3 separate regions of the Homo sapiens genome follow, and all the other regions are linked to region 1. Evidence: promoter capture Hi-C in 16 types of primary human blood cells and fetal thymus (Javierre and others, 2016). All regions are on one chromosome and are shown on one strand. Each heading gives the region's core, a stretch centred on a gene start or on the middle of the fragment in contact. The rest is flanking DNA. Distances are from core to core; before and after follow the strand shown. Region 1 holds the start of RNASE6 (ribonuclease A family member 6). Region 2 overlaps ARHGEF40 (Rho guanine nucleotide exchange factor 40). Region 3 holds the start of LOC105370398 (a long non-coding RNA gene).

Evidence for each region. Contacts are between HindIII fragments. The CHiCAGO score rates a contact against its expected background, and 5 or more counts as called.
Region 2: a fragment that was not itself captured here is called in contact with the fragment with the promoter of RNASE6 in region 1 in 2 of 17 cell types (monocytes and M1 macrophages); the score reaches 5.4 in monocytes.
Region 3: a contact is called between a fragment that was not itself captured here and the fragment with the promoter of RNASE6 in region 1, in 1 of 17 cell types (M0 macrophages). The highest score is 5.2, in M0 macrophages.

The regions. Positions count from the first base shown.
Region 1 is chr14:20,779,705-20,783,213 of GRCh38, forward strand. It overlaps RNASE6 (ribonuclease A family member 6), which reads left to right and starts at 1,564. Exons shown (of 2, transcript NM_005615.5): 1 at 1,564-1,634; 2 at 1,991-2,763. The coding sequence starts at 1,996. The coding sequence ends at 2,448. All of the region lies in intron 1 of LOC107984671 (a long non-coding RNA gene), which reads right to left. RefSeq lists an enhancer at 2,639-2,708. The HindIII fragment of the contact is 1,450 bases long and covers 1,261-2,710 here.
Region 2 is chr14:21,072,687-21,076,195 of GRCh38, forward strand. It overlaps ARHGEF40 (Rho guanine nucleotide exchange factor 40), which reads left to right. Exons shown (of 24, transcript NM_018071.5): 2 at 359-556; 3 at 1,246-2,494; 4 at 2,646-2,813; 5 at 2,959-3,079. Among named protein-coding and RNA genes, the nearest start is that of ARHGEF40, 4.1 kb to the left of the region's middle. The HindIII fragment of the contact is 1,623 bases long and covers 692-2,314 here.
Region 3 is chr14:21,045,946-21,049,454 of GRCh38, forward strand. LOC105370398 (a long non-coding RNA gene) reads right to left here and starts at 2,750. Exons shown (of 4, transcript XR_943588.3): 1 at 2,317-2,750; 2 at 2,110-2,201; 3 at 921-985; 4 at 452-563. It also overlaps a transcript of NDRG2 not described here. The HindIII fragment of the contact is 1,121 bases long and covers 1,220-2,340 here.

The DNA of each region.
Region 1 (3,509 bases), core at 314-2,813:
ATGTGCTGGGATATTGATTGAGATTGTGCTGAATCTATAGATCAAGTTGAGAGGAAATGACATCTTAACATATTGAGTATTCCTACTCATGTACATGGAATATCTGTGCTTCCTCAATTTCTTTCATTAGAGTTTTAAATTTTTCCTCATACCAATTTTTACATAATGTATTAGATTTACACCTAAGTATTTCACTTTCTTTGGTGCAATATAAATGGTATTGTGTTTTAAATATCAAATTGCAATTGTTCATTGCTGGTATATAAGAAAGCAACTGACTTTTGTATATTAACCTTGTATCCTGCAACCTTGCTATAAACAGACATTATGTTTATTCTGCAGACATTTGGAGCCATAAAAGCATGGGGCAAGAGTGTTGTACTATTATATCTTGTTCAAAAAAAGACTAATCTGGAAGTAATATGTAGAATGGATTGGAAGGAGAAAAAAACAAGGCAAGGAGTCCATGTGGGAGGCTTTTATGTGAGCCCTCCATAAGACAATGAGTTTCTGAATAAGGGTGTTGCAGTACCAGTGAAAAGGTAAGAACAGATTCAAGAGGCAAATATCCTAAATTCGGCCTTCTTCTTCAGGCTTACAGGTCTTTTCATACACAATTCTGTCTTTGGGAGGCGCTTAACACTCTCTTCACCTAACTTCTAATTATTCCTCAAAATTCAGTTCAGGTGTTGTGCCCTCCAACAATCCTTCCCCTCTACTATCTTCCCGTAGCCTCCTGCAGTGTCCTCCATCACACTGTAAGTGCTATTTATATTAATATAATCTACTTGTCTATATACTTACCTGCCTGTCTCTAATCTCTTTCATTAAATCATGAGCTCCTGGCAGATCACGAGGTCAGGAGATAGAGACCATCCTGGCTAACACAGTGAAACCCCGTCTCTACTAAAAATACAAAAAAATTAGCTGGGCGTGATGGCAGGCACCTGTAGTCCCAGCTACTCGGGAGGCTGAGGCAGGAGAATGGCATGAACCCAGGAGGTGGAGCTTGCAGTGAGCAAAGATCGCACCACTGCACTCCAGCCTGGGCGACAGAGCAAGACTCCGTCTCAAAAAAAAAAAAAAAAAAAACTCATGAGCTCCTGAATTTGTGTAGCCTAGTACCTGGCCCAATAAGTATATGCATAAATGAATAATGTATTCACTTCTGTTGTAGGAACTTACAACATTACCAAGTATGTGGCAGGCATTATATCATATTTATGTGACATATTTTCTCTTAAGAAACAGGAATCATAAAGCTTCAAAAAAAAACACTGAAGCCTCAGATGAGGCAGGAAGCACTCATTCCATATCAGGAAGTGATCAGTTCCTCAAAACTGTGAGTTTTCAGTCATGTTGTTTCTTTAAGTTGGTTTAGCCTTCCTGTATACATGTGATAATGATACTGTTTTAAAGAACAGGTGTGAAAGTCTAAGAGTTTAATCCAGACTCTGCACAAGAAGTTAATCTGCCAAACCCTAGGATTCTCCTTCTGAAAGCTCAGAATATTTCTTCCCCTTCCCTATACACACAGGGCTCGAAGGGTTAGAGAAGAAAGGCAGACAACAGCTTCTGAGCTTTGGACTAATCACAGCCTCTGTTCTCAGCAGGAGCCCCAACACTGAGACCAGGTAAGAAAGAAAGCCTCAGGGCTGGAGCGAGTAGAGCAGTAAAGACGGCTGGGAGGTAGTGGTCAGATAGAGGGTAAATATTTCAGGAGGGAAGAGGGAAGAAACTTTCTGATATGACAGCCATCAAATGCATGAGTACTTGTGAAAGAAAATGGGATATGCCAATCAAAGGAGAGGTCATATTTCTGTTTCCTGGGCTTCAGGTTCTTCATAGAATTGTGAGACTATGTGAGAAAGAAGATTTTAAAGGGAGCTGTAAAATCTTAAAAGGCAAAATAAAAATCTAAATAGTTATGATTAAAAATTTTGCTCTTATTGCTTCTCCTACTATAACTATCTTCTCTCTTTCTACACAGAAAAGATGGTGCTATGCTTTCCTCTTCTTTTACTGCTGCTGGTTCTATGGGGACCAGTGTGTCCACTTCATGCTTGGCCTAAGCGTCTCACCAAGGCTCACTGGTTTGAAATTCAGCATATACAGCCAAGTCCTCTCCAATGCAACAGGGCAATGAGTGGCATCAACAATTATACCCAGCACTGTAAGCATCAAAATACCTTTCTGCATGACTCTTTCCAGAATGTGGCTGCTGTCTGTGATTTGCTCAGCATTGTCTGCAAAAATCGTCGGCACAACTGCCACCAGAGCTCAAAGCCTGTCAACATGACTGACTGCAGACTCACTTCAGGAAAGTATCCCCAGTGCCGCTATAGTGCTGCTGCCCAGTACAAATTCTTCATTGTTGCCTGTGACCCCCCTCAGAAGAGCGATCCCCCCTACAAGTTGGTTCCTGTACACTTAGATAGTATTCTCTAAGGCATCCACTGCATTTCCTTTCATTTGACATAGCTTCTGTTACAATTGCATCCATGTTTTCTTTTCTTTTGTTGATTTTCTTGTTCCCGTAGAAGAAAGAAGAAAGGTGTTTGGAGAATTCGAGTGCCTAGGATGCCAGACCAGAGTTGAGACAAAAAGAAATAAGATTATTTTCTGCTTTGTAGTTCTGTACTTTTCGAGAGAAGGGAATAGGGAAGACAGCAAAGAAAGATTCAGATTTCTAACCCTGCAACTTTTGCCAAGCTTTATTGCCCTGTGTTCACAGCAATAAAACCACTTCCTGCTGCATTCTAATGAGTGTGTGTTTGAGATCCGCTTTCAAAGCATTGTTGACCGGTACTCAGAGGAACACTGTTTTGACTTTAAGTCCCTAGAAAACTTTTGAGGCCTCCCTGGGGCCCCACTTCCTTGCCCACAAGAAAGGACAGCGTTTGGGACTTTGGAGCATTTCTTCAAACTCTGCTCATGACTTTATATATTCCCCTGGAAACCATTGTCTATGCTTAATTGGAGGTAGTACTGATACCTCAAAGACAGTTGATGATAACTCACACATAGATTCTGTCACTGGCAACTGAAGGATCCTATGTCTTTTCTATTTGTTTCCGTTTTTAATCAGATAATGTTTTAAATATAAGGTGATAGTAGTAGTAATAGGGATAATAATCCATTGTAGTAACCTTAGGGTCAATCCTCCATTATTTATTGAAATGGATAAATAGAAAGCATAGATCAAGAAAAAAGCACTAGGCTTGTCGTGGTGGCTCACGCCTGTAATCCCAGCACTTTAGGAGGCTGAGGCAGGTGGATCGTCTGAGGTCAGGAGTTCAAGACCAGCCTGGCCAACATGGTGAAACGCTATCTCTACTAAAGATACAAAAAAAGTAGCTGGGCGTGGTGGCAGTGCCTGTAATCCCAGCTACTCGGGAGGCTGAGGCAGGAGAATCGCTTGAACCCAGGAGGTAGAAGTTGCAGTGAGCAAATATTGTGTCACTGCACTCCAGCCTGGGCAACAGAGTGAGACTCCCATCTCAAAAACA
Region 2 (3,509 bases), core at 253-2,752, 290 kb after region 1:
AGTCCCCTGATAGCCCAGAAGCCTGTCTTTTCTCTCCTGGGAAAGATCTATGCAATCACCCCAACTCACGAGCACCCGGAACAGCCCTGATCAGGGGCATTCACAACAAATTCTCCCTGGATCTCCAAAGCCAAGGTCTCAGAGCGGGAGTGTTGAGCGCCCTGCCAGGTTTGTGCACTCTGGCCCAGCCCCACTCCTGTTCTGGGCTCATCAGCCAGCATTTCCTGAGTGCTCACTTTTTGCCCACATTGTACAATCGGGGCTTTGGAGAACACAGCCAACCCCAGACCAGTGCAGCTCCCAAGGAGCCATGATTGGGTGATCTCTAGGGATCTGTAGCCTGGTCCTATCTCTACAGGAGCCTGAGCCAGTGGAGGACTGTGTGCAGAGCACTCTCGCCGCCCTGTATCCACCCTTTGAGGCAACAGCCCCCACCCTGTTGGGCCAGGTGTTCCAGGTGGTGGAGAGGACTTATCGGGAGGACGCACTGAGGTACACGCTGGACTTCCTGGTACCAGCCAAGCACCTGCTTGCCAAGGTCCAGCAGGAAGCCTGTGTGAGTGGCCGTGCATCACTATTCTGCCTTCCCCAAGATCCACTGCCACACTCTACAGACTAGCCAGGCTGACTAATGCCCCCACTAACCTAGAGATACAGCCTCCCTTGAAACCGATCTCTCCAGAATCACTTAAGCTTCATTCTCTGACCTCTCACAAACTTTGACCTTCACAGGCACTGACCATTCAGATGCTAACACACACACACACACACACATTCATCTTCCCCAAATTCATCTTGACCCCAATACTGACCCCCAAAGACCCTAACTCTCCAGACCCAATTCCAGACATCTTCTCCCCCTCATATGAATTTCTCAAGACACTAACTCCCCCGTACATTAGTCAACAGAGATCATTCATTTCTACAGATATAAAGACTCCTAAGAGTCTTTAGCTTCTCCAAGACAATGGCATCTGCTGACCATGTCTTGGTAACGATTCAGTTCTTACCCTCCCACACATGGAACTAGCTTCCTGAAGAATCTTCCTACTACTGGGAGACCGATCAGTCCCAATCCCTTCCTCTCTGCCACCTGAATACCCCAAATCTCCCCTCCTGCTCTCCTGAGAGTATAACCTTCCAGGCATAAGGCTGGTCCTGCCTAGGGTGGGCCCATTCTAACTGCCCTCTCCTGCTGGTTTCTTCAGCAGAGGCCTGAGTGCAGCCTCCCACCTCTCTCCCCAGGCCCAATACAGTGGATTCCTCTTCTTCCATGAGGGGTGGCCGCTCTGCCTGCATGAACAGGTGGTGGTGCAGCTAGCAGCCCTACCCTGGCAACTGCTGCGCCCAGGAGACTTCTATCTGCAGGTGGTGCCCTCAGCTGCCCAAGCACCCCGACTAGCACTCAAGTGTCTGGCCCCTGGGGGTGGGCGGGTGCAGGAGGTTCCTGTGCCCAATGAGGCTTGTGCCTACCTATTCACACCTGAGTGGCTACAAGGCATCAACAAGGACCGGCCAACAGGTCGCCTCAGTACCTGCCTACTGTCTGCGCCCTCTGGGATTCAGCGGCTGCCCTGGGCTGAGCTCATCTGTCCACGATTTGTGCACAAAGAGGGCCTCATGGTTGGACATCAGCCAAGTACACTGCCCCCAGAACTGCCCTCTGGACCTCCAGGGCTTCCCAGCCCTCCACTTCCTGAGGAGGCGCTGGGTACCCGGAGTCCTGGGGATGGGCACAATGCCCCTGTGGAAGGACCTGAGGGCGAGTATGTGGAGCTGTTAGAGGTGACGCTGCCCGTGAGGGGGAGCCCAACAGATGCTGAAGGCTCCCCAGGCCTCTCCAGAGTCCGGACGGTACCCACCCGCAAGGGCGCTGGAGGGAAGGGCCGCCACCGGAGACACCGGGCGTGGATGCACCAGAAGGGCCTGGGGCCTCGGGGCCAGGATGGAGCACGCCCACCCGGCGAGGGGAGCAGCACCGGAGCCTCCCCTGAGTCTCCCCCAGGAGCTGAGGCTGTCCCAGAGGCAGCAGTCTTGGAGGTGTCTGAGCCCCCAGCAGAGGCTGTGGGAGAAGCCTCCGGATCTTGCCCCCTGAGGCCAGGGGAGCTTAGAGGAGGAGGAGGAGGAGGCCAGGGGGCTGAAGGACCACCTGGTACCCCTCGGAGAACAGGCAAAGGAAACAGAAGAAAGAAGCGAGCTGCAGGTCGAGGGGCTCTTAGCCGAGGAGGGGACAGTGCCCCACTGAGCCCTGGGGACAAGGAAGATGCCAGCCACCAAGAAGCCCTTGGCAATCTGCCCTCACCAAGTGAGCACAAGCTTCCAGAATGCCACCTGGTTAAGGAGGAATATGAAGGCTCAGGGAAGCCAGAATCTGAGCCAAAAGAGCTCAAAACAGCAGGCGAGAAAGAGCCTCAGCTCTCTGAAGCCTGTGGGCCTACAGAAGAGGGGGCCGGAGAGAGAGAGCTGGAGGGGCCAGGCCTGCTGTGTATGGCAGGTGAGATGACACGGAGTGAGGCTCATGGGGCAAGGGCCAAAGCAGGTCGGGCCTATGGGAGGGGGCAGGAGGAGGAGCAGGGTTAGGCTGGGAGCAGAACAACCAGAACCATCTTAACTTCAGTCCCATGTTTCTGTCTGTGTCTGTGCAGGACACACAGGCCCAGAAGGCCCCCTGTCTGACACTCCAACACCTCCGCTGGAGACTGTGCAGGAAGGAAAAGGGGACAACATTCCAGAAGAGGCCCTTGCAGTCTCCGTCTCTGATCACCCTGATGTAGCTTGGGACTTGATGGCATCTGGATTCCTCATCCTGACGGGTCAGTGGGCATCAGTGGGTGAAGGGAAACAGGACTGGGAAAGAGAAGCAATTGGGTGGGCTTGGGGACTGGGGGAGGCAGGGTGGAAAGGAGGTAGGCATGGACTGCTCCCAGCCAGGACAGCCTGGCCATTTTGTGTCTTCAGGAGGGGTGGACCAGAGTGGGCGAGCTCTGCTGACCATTACCCCACCGTGCCCTCCTGAGGAGCCCCCACCCTCCCGAGACACGCTGAACACAACTCTTCATTACCTCCACTCACTGCTCAGGTAACCGAGGCCCAGTCCTGGCACCCTGGACACTAACCTCCTGATTCATGAGGACCCTCACCTCCTTCTTCTCAGGACACTGACCTTCTGACCTCTAAGGACACCTACTTCTTCAACCTTCAGACTTCAAGCCATTGACCTTTGGCCTTACTTACCCTGACCTCCAGCTTCATATCTTCACTGATCTTCAAAAGCAACACTGTTGACTTTCACTCTCTTCCAACCCTACCAAGATCATCAGGACATTGGTTCACTGATTCAACAAACATTTATTGAGCACTGAGTACCTATTAGGCACCATACTACAGGCTGATATTGAATGCACGCCATTTCAGAACAGAATTCTTAATTTTCCAGACCTTAATCCCTTGACCTAGTAGCCATATGAATATAGACCCCTGACTGCTAGGTGACTTCCTCTTGTACACAC
Region 3 (3,509 bases), core at 530-3,029, 270 kb after region 1:
TTAAGATTTGTTTCAAAAGGCAGCAGGTGGTCATAAAAATAAATAAGAAAAAAAGATTTGTGTATTTTATGTAAGTTATATCTCATTTTCAAAAAAGTCTTTCAAATATGTATACTTCTTAAGGGATTATTTTATTTACATAATAAATCATAATACACCAATCAATTCTAAAAAGAGTAATTAAATCATAGATAGAATTATGATATAATCTAATTTCTATTGTTCTGTTCTGTACTATTTGTTAAATTAAATACTACTTGTGGTGTTTATTAAATTGTTGTAAATACATTGGGCTCAGCCAGGCACAGTGGCTCTCACTTGTAATCCCAGCACTTTGGGAGGCCTAACCAGAGCAGCTTACTTGAGCCCAGGAGTTTGAGACCAGTCTGGGCAACATAGTGAAACCCCATATCTACAAAAAATACAATTAGCTGGGTATGATGACACATGCCTGTAGTCCCTGCTACTCCAGAGGCTGAGGTGGCGGATCTCTTGAGCCCAGAAGGTTGAGGCTGCAGTGAGCCATGATCTGCACTCCAGCCTGGGCACCACTGCACTCCAGCCTGAGTAACAGAATGAGAGCCTGTCTCAAAACAAATACATACATACATACATACATACATACATACATACATACATACATACATACCTTGGTCTCAGAAAGTACAGTTGGCTTTTGAACAACATGGAGGTTAAGGGTGCCTAGTGTACAGTCGAAAATCCAAGTATAACCTTTGACTCCCCCAAAACTTAACTACTAATAGCCTATTGATCACCTGAAGCCTTACCAATAACATAAACGTTCAGTTAACATATATTTTGTATGCTATATGTATTATGTACCATATTCCTACAATAAAGTAAGCTAGAGAAAAAAAAGGTGTCATTAAGAAAATCATAAGGAAGAAAAAAATATTTACTATTCGTTTAGTGGAAGTGGCTCATCATAAAAGTCTTCATCCTCATTGTCTTCACGTTAAGGAGGCTGAGGAGGAGAAGGAAGAGGAGGGGTTGGTCTTGCTGTCTCAGGGATGGCAGAAGCAGATGAAAATTTGAATGTAAGTGGACTTGCACAGTTCAAATCATTGTTGATCAAGGGACATAAGGTTCTCCCTAAAGTTATCTAGCTAACACACTCTCTTCTATTATTTATATTATCGGTCAACTAATTTCCTATTTTTTAACCATGTGGAAATTTTAAATAATTGTTTCATATATAAGCTTTCACAACAATTAATAATAGCATCTTTCTTAAAAATAATAAATAATAATAAATACCCATTTATACTTCCACTGGCTGGTAGAATTTCAATATAATAATTTTTTTTTAAGCTCACAAGGAAAATTTCACTCCAGGTTACATCTAGAGTACTCACCAATATTTGGAAGTAACTATTCAGATATTAACAATAAATCCAAATGGCCTGGCCTATTCTTATTAGTGGTGCCCTACCTGAATAGATTTGTCACTCAATCCTTCGTGTGACCTTGATCACAGCCAAGTTAAAGGATGCCAGGAATAGTGATGAAATAGGAATTTGACTATTCAGCCTTCCAAAAGCCAAAGCTGAGATACAAGAAGATAATAATTTGGGCCAAATACCAAGGCTGGCTGAACTGTGATGCATTCCTACTTGAAAGCTGAAGAATGGGAAAAGGAGAATGCTTAATTATGAGATATTTATGTTTCTAGGGCTGGGAGCTTGGAGAGAGGAGGATGGTGTCCAGGGGAGCTTTGCCCAGTCTTGTGCAGATGGACTTAAATTGTTTCAACATGGAGTAAAGGAGCGGAAATGGAGTTCAGTAAAGAAAGTAAACCAAGAACTGGAGCTAGATGAGCTGGCTCTCCTAGAAGGGAGACTATCTGAGGTAGACTGGGGAGGAGACTTTTCTACATGACTCTGGTTCCCAGAAGTCTCCACACACTGAAGTAAATGAGCCCTAGACACCATGAAGAGGGCCAACAGAATCACTGTGAAGAGAAGGATCCTCAGCTCCAGGGATTTCCTCTGCCTACACCCTGCCCTTAAGATCAGGACCCTTTGGCCCTCTTCATAGTGTCTGGGGCTCTGGGGGATAACCCTTGAGCTATGGCACCAAAAAACATACCAGTAGCAACAACATCCAGGGGGCCTTCTCTTCTCCTTGGGAGAGCTTCAACTCATTTCATCACATTTCTTCCATGCACCTGCACAACTGGGCTTCCAAAAGTGCTTCAAAGACTTCAGAGCTTCATTCTAATGTCCTCCCCCTACCCCCACCCCACCATGAATGGGCAAAAAGAAGAGCAGTTATAGCTCTTATCAGGATGCTTACCTGTGCAAGACTCCAAAACCAGTAAGCTTGGGAACATCCACGGAGCCACAGGGACATGAGAAAGCCCACATTGCTAATGAGATCTTGTAAGAAGTCCACAGTTCATAAGAGGAAAGGTAAATAAAAATGTGTGCTCGTGATGAAAATACACACTGTGATAGAACGCCTCTTAGCTTAGGGAGGTGGGAGTTTCCCCATCTATATAAGCTGATCTCAAACTCCTGAGCTCAGGTGATCTACTCTCCTCAGCCTCCCAAAACTGCTGAGATTACAGGTGTGAGCCAATGCGCCTGGCAATAATGTTACCAACAGATGGTTTTTGGGCTTGAATACCTTCAGGGACATGGATCTTCACTACCACTTCACAAGAGTATAATGTGGATTAAAAGTAACAATACATATAAAGCACTTAGTACAGTGACTAGCATGTAGGGAAAGTTTGAATGGTGTTAGCATTTCTATTTATCATTGTGGTGTCAAATGTTGAGTGGTCAAACCTGTGATGAATGGAGCAGGCCTGACTTCCGTGACAGAAGAACAAAGGATTTAAACAAGGGAGGCCAAACTCCTCCTCATCCGCCTCTTGCCAAAAAGCTCCTAGCCAAGAGTAGATAAGGGAAGGTTCAAGGTCAGACAAAAAGGACAATATGTATTAGTTTCTGTAGATAAGGTTATTTGGGAGGAATGGATGGGTACTTTGAGTTGAAGGAGAAGTAAAAGGGGGCTTTGGAGAATTTCTGTTAAGATTACTTAAGGGAAGTTTTTCTCCTCTGCAACCTCTGTGAATTTATGAATCCAAAGATATGAAAATAAGTTGGAGGACTTAGGACCACTAACTTTTGAGGGTGCCCTCTGTATTCCCTCCCATCCAAAGGATTTGATTATTGCAGCAATTGATGGAGACAGGGCTCTAGTGACATTTCCAACTTCCCCTCCTGAGATATTTAAATTAGTCCTTAGGAAGGCTTACTATCCCCTCACTTCCATCGTGGAAGCCTCTTATATTTTTCCCACCCTCTGATTCAGCTCCATTTTCTGGTTCATTTTTCATCACTCAAAACCTCCACCAACGCCTGTGACTCATGTCCAGTGGATTGGTTATAGCAGAAAAACATTGTGGTCATTACTTTCTATGGTTTTTTCATAGAAACTTAGTTGAACTTACACATTTAAAACATAAACTAACTGTGGTG